Regions from separate parts of the Homo sapiens genome. Here regions 1 and 3 are each linked to region 2. Evidence: promoter capture Hi-C in 16 types of primary human blood cells and fetal thymus (Javierre and others, 2016). All regions are on one chromosome and are shown on one strand. Each heading gives the region's core, a stretch centred on a gene start or on the middle of the fragment in contact. The rest is flanking DNA. Distances are from core to core; before and after follow the strand shown.

Evidence for each region. Contacts are between HindIII fragments. The CHiCAGO score rates a contact against its expected background, and 5 or more counts as called.
Region 1: the fragment with the promoter of TRPC1 here is called in contact with the fragment with the promoter of DIPK2A in region 2 in 3 of 17 cell types (fetal thymus, total CD4 T cells and activated CD4 T cells); the score reaches 6.6 in fetal thymus.
Region 3: a contact is called between a fragment that was not itself captured here and the fragment with the promoter of DIPK2A in region 2, in 1 of 17 cell types (endothelial precursors). The highest score is 7.2, in endothelial precursors.

What each region holds. Positions count from the first base shown.
Region 1 is chr3:142,722,371-142,725,595 of GRCh38, reverse strand. It overlaps TRPC1 (transient receptor potential cation channel subfamily C member 1), which reads right to left and starts at 1,562. Exons shown (of 13, transcript NM_001251845.2): 1 at 865-1,562. The coding sequence starts at 1,036. RefSeq lists an enhancer at 144-1,010 and a silencer at 1,269-1,318. The HindIII fragment of the contact is 1,344 bases long and covers 892-2,235 here.
Region 2 is chr3:143,970,385-143,973,379 of GRCh38, reverse strand. It overlaps DIPK2A (divergent protein kinase domain 2A), which reads right to left and starts at 1,557. Exons shown (of 3, transcript NM_173552.5): 1 at 391-1,557. The coding sequence starts at 1,047. RefSeq lists enhancers at 1-81, 1,090-1,670, 1,722-1,811, 2,082-2,191, 1,671-2,251 and silencers at 232-471, 962-1,611, 1,942-1,991. The HindIII fragment of the contact is 6,379 bases long and covers 1-2,943 here.
Region 3 is chr3:145,770,992-145,774,036 of GRCh38, reverse strand. No RefSeq gene overlaps it. Among named protein-coding and RNA genes, the nearest start is that of LNCSRLR, 300 kb to the left of the region's middle. The HindIII fragment of the contact is 5,024 bases long and covers 1-3,045 here.

The DNA of each region.
Region 1 (3,225 bases), core at 313-2,812, 1.2 Mb after region 2:
TATCCCTTTTGTTATATACATCACTACAAAGGATGATTGCGTGACATGGCCTTAATATGGCCATAAAAATGATTAACTTCTAGACTAAAAAAAGGATAACGCGCTAAATATATTCCACATATTTTTGCCTTGTAATTCCTGTAATTATTTTTCACTATCTTTATCTCCCAAAGAAAGATCTGGGAGCAATAAATCTTTCTCTCCAATAAAAAGCACTAACAATCAAAGGCGTTCCGTAAATCCAGAGAAAGTTTTGGCAACTAAGGCAGAATTTCTTCCGTCCCGTCCTTACTTCATGTATCTCCACCTAGGATATTCCGTTATTAATGCCAGTCAACAGTCACTGGCTAAAGCACTGGTCAGGTGAAGCTAAATAATAGAGGGTCTGGTTTTGTTTTTAAGAAAAACAAAAACCAGGTGATGAGAACCCTCCATACGAGGCATCCTAAGGTAAGGTGACGGAATTTTCCGACTGGAGTGTCGGAAACTAGCCTCTCGACTCCCGGAAGGAATGAACTGCGAGCCAGAGAGAAGACCAGGTCATTCATGCGGTCAGTAGCAAGGGCGGCGCTAAAACGCTGGGGTCGGGGCTCCCAAGGCGCTACCTAAACCCCGGACCCCAAGGCCAGAGCCACCCCCGACGGTGCAGCGCTCCGAGGGCGCAGCCCCAGCTCCACTCTCCCGCCAGCTCCACACTCACAGGGCAGAGGCGGTGAGGAGAAGACCGCCTGAGGCAGCAGGCGAGGCGGGAAGACACTCGGCGCCTGAGACAGAGGGAATGCCCCGATATAAGTTGAGGCGGGGGAGAGGACTAAAGGTCTGGAGGACAGGGGCGTCCAGAGGAGAAAGGGGCCTAACTCTCACCCTTGTCGCACGCCAGCAAGAAAAGCTTCTCATTCAGCGTATTCTCCTCCTTCACCTCCCGCACATCCTTCAGCGCCATCACCTCGTTCGGCGAGGAAGAGGATGGAGAGGAAGGCAGGGAGGAGGAGGAGGCGCCCGAGAGGTCCGTGCTCGGGTACAGGGCCGCCATCATCGCGGCCCATGAAGGGGGCAGGCCAGGAGACGGGGGCGGGGCCCCCACCGGCCCCGACCCCGACCCCGACCCCAGCCACGCCCCAGGGCTGGAAAAAGGATGAGTCGTTCCCACTGCTGCCTCGGCTCGAGGCCCGTTGGCCCCGAAGGGCGTCGCCTCCCCTGAGAACCAGCACTCGCCCTCCACTGACAGCCCCAAGTTGGTGGCGGCGCATGCGCGGCCCCGGGGCCAGCGACCCCTCCCCAGCCGCCGGCGCCCCGGCCGAGCCGGTCCGCGCCCGTCCGGGGACGACAGTGTGGCGCGCGCCAGGGCGGCAGCCGAGCACGGGGCCGTGCCAGGAGTCGCAGGGGCCGCGCCTGGGGCGGCCTAGCCCAGGAAGAGGACGAGAGATCTGTGGGAGAGGAGCTCCAAGAGGCGCTTCTGCGCACGTTGGGCTCCAGGGCTGTGGGAACCGCTGGCCCAGCTGCGCTCCGAGGAGATGTTCGCGACTCTGTCCTCACGTCATCCTCTGCTCCTCTGTAGCGACGACACTAGGGAGGAGCCTGCGGCAAGGGCGGGCTTGGGTGGGCGGGGCCTGCGGCAAGCGGGGCGTGGGTGGGTGGGGCCTGCGGTGGGGACGCACTGGGCTCCTGGAGCCCGCTGCAGCTTCCTTCGCTCTGGTGAGGTGAACCGCAGTCTGAGGAAGACTTCGCTCAATCGTCCCTTTCCACACCCAGGGTACTGGTTTAAGGTAATTAAGCAAATATGGAGCAGTATGTTAATTGAGTCTCTGACGACTTAATGTTTAGTCGAAATCCTTTGTGGAATTGTCCAGCTATTTCATATTCTGGTGCACTATGCTTTAAAGCACAATGGAGAGCCAGACTCGTGGGTTTGTATGTTGTACTCATTTTAGGCTGGAAATGAACTCTCATTTATAAAGGATATATAGATATATAATTATATTATGTTTAAATAATTTATACAAATATATAAATTTTTATTTCCATATTATTTCCATAGGTTTTTGAGGAACAGGTGGTGTTTGGTTACATGAGTAAGTTCTTTAGTGATGATTTGTGAGATTTTGATGTACCCATCATCGAGCAGTATACACTGAACCTAATTTTGTAGTCTTTTATCCCTCTCCCCCTTCCCAACCTTTCCCCGAGTCCCGAAAGTCCATTGTGTCATTCCTATGCCTTTGCATCCTCAAAGCTTAGCTCTCACTTGTGAGTGAGAACATACGATGTTTGGTTTTCCATTCCTGAGTTACTTCATTTAGAATAAGAATAATAGTCTCCAGTCCCATCCAGGTTTCTGCGAATGCCATTTATTCATTCCTTTTTATGGCTGAGTAGTATTCCATCATTATATATATATCACATATATATATACCACATATATATATATATATATATATATCACAGTTTCTTTATCCACTCATTGATTCATGGGCATTTGGGTTGGCTCCACATTTTTGCAATTGCGAATTGTGCTGCTATAAATATGCATGGGCAAGTATCTTTTTCGTGTAATGACTTCTTTTCCTCTGGGTAGATACCCAGTAGTGGGATTACTGGATCAAATGGTAGTTCTACTTTTAGTTCTCTAAGGAATCTCCACACTGTTTTCCATAGTGGTGTACTAGTTTACAGTCCCACCAGTAATGTAGAAGTGTTCCCTTTTCACCGCATCCACACCAACAGCTATTATTTTTTGATTTTTTTGATTATGGCCATTCTTGCGGAAGTAGGGTGGTACATACGGCATAGCAGTTTTGACTTGGAATTCCCTGATCATTAGTGATCTTGAGCATTTTTTCATATGTTTGTTGGCCATTTGTGTATCTTCTTTTGAGAATTGTCTATTCATGTTTTTTTGTTTTTTCTTGAGACAGAGTTTTGCTCTTGTTGCCCAGGCTGGAGTGCAATGGCGTGATCTTGGCTCACCGCAACTTCCGCCTCCCAGGTTCAAGTGATTCTCCTGCCTCAGCCTTCCGACCAGCTGGTATTACCGGCATGTGCCACCACACCCGGCTAATTTTGTATTTTTAGTAGAGACAGTGTTTCTCCCTGTTGGTCAGGCTGGTCTCGAACTCCAGACCTCAGGTGATCTGCCTGCCTCAGCCTCCCAAAGTGCTGGGATTACAAGCATGAGCCACTGCCCCCAGCCCTTTTCATGTTTTTAGCCCAGTTTTTGTTAGGATT
Region 2 (2,995 bases), core at 308-2,807:
CAAGGGCTCGTGAACAGTCTGCGCCGCGGACCTGCAAGCCCCGGCAGATAAAAGCAGAAAGGCAGGGTAGAGAGCGGAAGGAAACTCGCAGTAGAGACATTTTGGGGAGTGTTAAGAGACGCACTCCCTCTGGCGTTGAAAGATCCACAGTCAAATCCGAAATGCGCCCGAATCTAGGTAACAAGAGCAGACTCTCCATCAGCGGGGTCGCCCTCGGCCTCCCTGCACAGCCCCGGGGCTCCCCCGGAGACGCCCCTTCCCACGCCTGCAGCCTGGCCCAGCCCGGCCGAGTCCGAACTGGCGGCAAGCGCTGGCTGAGCCACTTCTCCCGACTCTGATTCCCACGCGCGGCCCCTCCCAGGACGCCCCCTGCCCTGGCTCCGCGCCTACCTGTAGCACCAGCGGCTCGGGGTTGAAGGCCAGGGTCAGCAGCAGCTGCATGCGCTCCGAGTCCTTGAGGTTGCGAAGCAGGAAGCTGCCCGAGTCCTTGGTCTCCGCGTAGCGGCGCACCAGGCGGTCGAGAAGGCGCTGCGAGGGGCAGTGCACCAGGTCCGACCAGCCCTCCACCGCCTCGGGCGTGAGCAGACGCACGTCGCCGTTGAGGCGCGCGAACTCGGTCCGGGGCATGGCCTGCAGCAGGTCGCAGCGGGGCCGGCCGGTGGCCCGCTTGCAGATGCTCTGGTCGAGCTGCGCCAGCTCGCGCTGCGAGCCGAGGCGCTTGAGCACCACTCGGCGGCGGCCGCCCTCGCGGGGCTCGCCGTACTGCGCGAAGTACACGTTCTTCACGTTGAGGAAGTCCAGCAGGCGCAAGCGGCCCCACGCCTCGAATACCACCTGCCCGTTGAGGAAGCGGCGGCACCAGCTCGTGCCGAAGCACGCCGGGCACTTATTGAGCTGCAGGAAGCGCCGGTCGGTCAGTTCGTTGCGCTGCCAAGAGGCGAGCAGCGACGGCGAGTGCAGCACCATCAGCACCAACAGGCTGCCCAGCGCCGCCAGCTTCAGCGAGCGGGACAGGCGGCCCAGCTTCGGGGGCACCAGGCGCCACATACCGCCCGCCCGCCCGCAACGGGAGGGCGAGGGCACCCCCGGGGCGCCCCCGCCGCGCCAAGACCCGGAGAGCTACCGGCAGGAACCCCGGGCGAGAGAAGGAGCTAGCGCGCGGGCTGGGGCGGAGGGCGGAGTAGGTGTGTGAGAGAGGAAGACGGGGAGCGGGAAGGCGCGGGCCTGAGCGGGCTGCGACTTCTCCCAGTCACTAGTCTCCACAACTCTCGAGCTCCCTCCTCCTAGCTCCCCGCCCTCCGACTCCGGCGGCGCCTCCTCCACGCCAGCCAAGTTATAGAGGAGCGGGAGGGGGAGGGAGCGCGGGGACCCGACGGTCGCGCGCCCGTGCCCGCGCGCACGCGCACTGCTGGCTTCGCACAAGAGCTGCGGCGGCAGCCAGCCACGACAAGTGGGGTCTGCGAGGAAAGGAGGGACTCACGGAAGGGGAAGAGGAGCTAGGATGTCTCACACCCACAAGCAGCAACGCACGTCTCAGAGCCGCACACCCTTGCTTGTGCGCGCTGGCTCTCCTGAGACCAAGAAGGGGAGCCGGGGGCGGGGCCAGAGGGGCGGAGCGAGCGCGTCGCGCGCCGCCCGGAAAGCGTAAGCGGGAGCTCGCGGGAGCGGGTGTGGGGGCGGTTCAGAGAGGGGGAAGCTCGGGCTCTTGAGGTGGGGGCATGAACTCGCGGTTTCTGGTTTCAGAAAGAGTCTTAATTACAGTCATCTTTTATGATTATTGTGGTTTACTGGTGCGTTCCTTTCACTATTGTGGAAACGGCCCTTTAAGGGAGGAGGGAATAAGAAGAAATGAACTGAGGAAGTCTATTGCAAATCCTTCCCTCTGGACGGCGCGCGAGGCGGAGGCAGAGCTGGCGCGATTGCCTCCCCTCGCCTTATATGGGTTGGGTGCGCGCCTGGGGGGTGGGGCGAGGCCGGGGAGTGCCCGACGGGGGCTTGTGTTCCCCTCAGCTCGTGCTCCTCGCGGTAGGGGGTGGGGCCTGTGAGGAAGACGGTGAGAAAGGCTCGAGTAGTGGCGGGTTTGTTGGAGCTTCATCTTTGGGGTTGTATCTGTAAAATCATTTAAAATTTTCTTGAGTGAGCACAAAATAAAGTTCTCAAGCCACCGTGTTAAAGGGAAAATAGGATGAAGGGGAACCGACGCGGCCTGGTGTCGCCAGGACGTCTGCCCCAAGCGCCGCGAAGAAGCCGGGAAGAGTTTGCCAGGCTTGCCTCTGCTGCCCGCCGGCTGCCCTAGCCCGTCCCCGGAGCCCTGCGGTTCCTCTCCGCAAAGCTGATTTCCCGGTGCCGCCCCTGAGGGTCCCTGAGGAGCGGGCCGCGAAGCGTTGCCCTGGCGGTAGCCATGGGGACCCGGGGCTGCTTGGTGCTCCGCACGGTCACGTTGACTCAGTCACCCCAGACTGCAAAAGTAAGGCGCAGATGCCGCACGAAAGCACTGTGTTTAGGGATAAGTTTCAGGGGACCCGGACTGTTTAGCAGTAGCGCTAGTAGATACATTATTATGCTATTCACTTTTAGTGCTAGAGTAGTTAAAATGAGAAGTGATTTTTAGTCTGAGGGACAGGTGGTTCCTGATACGTTATTAAACAACTGAGTCTTAACTGAGTTAATTTTAGGGCTTGAACAGTGCTTTTAGAAGACCATGGTAACTGGCATGTGTAGATCAACTCTACAGCGGGTTAATAAGAAACATCTATACCAGGTTATCAAAAGTAACAATACTTTCAGTATTGTTTAATTGTAACAGGTATTTGTTACAAATTCTTATAAGAACTCAGATTTTGAAAAAAAAACTTTGAGAAATTTAATAAATTCAAAATAGACGTGATTTTGTAACGATTTGCATTGAATACGGACAGACAAATTGAAATAATATTCAAAGCTTTCTAGAAATTGACTTACTGTACTTAAGTTTGGCTACTTCTGCCTAGTGCCT
Region 3 (3,045 bases), core at 486-2,985, 1.8 Mb before region 2:
ACTCAGGAATATGTGTCATGGTACTGGCATAAATTAATGTTAGAGAGCAGAATTCAAAGAATTCTGGGAGGGTTAGGATTGCTACGGTTGAAGAAAACTGCCTTACATAAGATCATGCCTGATCGTAAGGGCAGCCCACATCCAGTGGCCAATAAATGGAATTGTATAAAGGCTTGGCCTTCTTGCCTCAATTCACAACTGCTCTGAAGGATGTCAAAGAGAAATACTTAATAGCACTAGACGCTTATTAAAAGTGGCAAGGCTGATTTATTCAGCCTTCTGCAGTAGGAAAGAGACACTCCATTAAAAACTATGCTCACTTCCAACTAAGACAAAATTAACTAGGAGAAAATAGAGAGAACAAAAAAGGGCTATAAGGAAGTAAAATAAAGTAACTAAAGGGGACTGGGGGCTATGGGGAAGTGAAAAAATATGTGATGGGGGATAAGTGGAAAATTATTGAAAATCATTTGGCAATGTACATTGGGACAATGTGCACTTTGTTACATTTTCTTGAGCAAAGACTCAGCCTAGGGGCTGGTGCCACCTCTAGAAATACCACCTAGGGGAGGTAGGAGTCAGGCTAAAGTTTGGCCAAGTCTCTCAGCACTGTGTTCAGGCAGGTCCTTTGTGCCACCTGGAAGTTCACAGTCCACAAGGTGCACACCTTTGAGACTACAATGACATCCAACTTCTCCCTCTGCTCAATCAATCCTCCATCCATTCTCCAATCTTCACAGGTACAGATCCCAAGAGCTCTAATGAACATCCTGTATGCTAGACTCCAGCTGAGGCGGTTTCTCAGGTCCTCCAGCTTCTTATGTTTCTCATAATTATAACCCATGGGCATTTCATACATTTGAAATGGAAGATTCTTTTTTCTCTCTGCAGACATCTTGCTAATTAAGTAAAAGATTACTATAGCCTTGGAACACGTGTCAGCTATAGGATTGTAGCACTTCCTTTCTGCTAAAAAGATGTGGTTCCTTTTGGCTGACACATTTTAAGTCATTTGTGGGTAAATTTCTACACATTCTATGCTTGACTTTTTGTATGTGTGTTTTTTTATTACTGAAATGATATATTATATTCCTAAATAACAGAAATGGATCAATTGTTCAAAGGCCATCCACTAAATCATAAATATAGAGACATAGTAACATAAATGCTACAACTCAAACAACATTATAAATATAATCTACTACCTTTTAAGTACAGAATAAATTACATGGGTATAGCATGTAAATCTGACATGGTGTTTTTACACAAGCAGTCATAAAAGTTGCCAACAGGAAGGAGAACTGTATATAATAGAATTGGATTTTACTGGACCAATAAAGTGATTCATCTACCTCTATTCTTTGGAACATTGTTTGTATTGAAAATTTGTTGAATAGCATCAAGAAACCAATGAAGCTATCACATATTTTTAAAACAAAGCACAGTGATCTCGCTAGTCAACCAAATTAGATGTATTTTTTTTAGAATAAGTGAAAAATATTGCTTTCTTTCATGCAATTGATCAATTTAGTTGCTAAAAATAAAGACTCAAAGTTCTAGTTCTTGAAAAAGAAATATTTAAAAACAAATGCAAGGTTATATAGCCTCAGAAAGAAAGCAGTAGAAGCAATTTTCAGAATTTGTTTTATTAAATAGTATTGACGAGCATCAAATAATACCAACTCATACAATGTCCAAAAGTAATAACTCTCTCAGACAGATAATCTTATGGTGGGACAAATCCTTGAAATGCAGAGACTGAATGAGCTCGTGGCACTTATGTGAAACACGTGAGAGAGAGGTGGTCTATGAGATTTTGTTTTATTATGAGAACCCCATGGTACAGAAGAAGTGGTGTTTTAATTTAGGTGATGATTACTTGGTGAGCCGTAATGAAACCTGGATACAGTGTGCTCACATTGGCACTAAAGTACAATTTATGTAGAGGTAGCAGGAAGGCCATTGCTACTTGAAGGCAGCTCTACATACAGCTTTACCACAAAGTGAACGTGTTACACAAATGAAATATGAGTAATTCATGATGCTGAAGGGTGAATGAGCAGCTCTGAACTAAGACTGCTTTAAAGTTTATAACACTCTTAGTGTTGCGGGAAGTCAGGGACCCCAAACGGAGGGACCGGCTGGAGCCGTGGCAGAGGAACATAAATCGTGAAGATTTCATGGACATTTATCAGTTCCCAAATAATACTTTTATAATTTCTTATGCCTGTCTTTACTTTAATCTCTTAATGCTGTTATCTTAGTAAGCTGAGGATATATGTCACCTCAGGACCACTATGATAATTGTGTTAACTGTACAAGTTGATTGTAAAACACGTGTGTTTGAACAATATGAAATCAGTGCACCTTGAAAAAGAAGAAAATAACAGCAATTTTTAGGGAACAAGGGAAGACAACCATAAGGTCTGACTGCCTGCTGGGTTGGGCAAAAAGAGCCATATTTTTCTTCTTGCAGAAAGCCTACAAACGGATATGGAAGTAAGAGAGATATCACTAAATTCTTTCCTTAGCAATTAATATTAATACCCTGGGAAAGGAATGCATTCTTGGGGGGAGGTCTATAAATGGCCGCTCTGAGATTGTCTGTCTTATGTGGTTGAGATAAGGACTGAGATGTGCCCTGGTCTCCTGCAGTACCCTCAGGCTTACTAGGGTAGGGAAAAAACTCCACCCTGGTAAATTTGTGGTCAGACTGGTTCTCTGCTCTCAAACCCTGTTTTCTGTTGTTTAAGATGTTTATCAAGACAATACATGCACTGCTGAACATAGACCCTTATCAGTAGTTCTGCTTTTGCCCTTTGCCTTGTTCACTCAGAAGCATGTGATCTTTGGTCTGCTTTTTGCCCTTTGAAGCATGTGATCTTTGTACCTACTCTCTGTTATTTCACCCCCTCCCCTTTTGAAACCCTTAATAAAAAACTTGCTGGTTTGAGGCTCAGGTGGGCATCACGGTCCTACCAATATGTGATGTCACCCCCGGGGGCCAAGCCATAAAATTCCTCTCTTTGTACTCTTTCTTTTTAT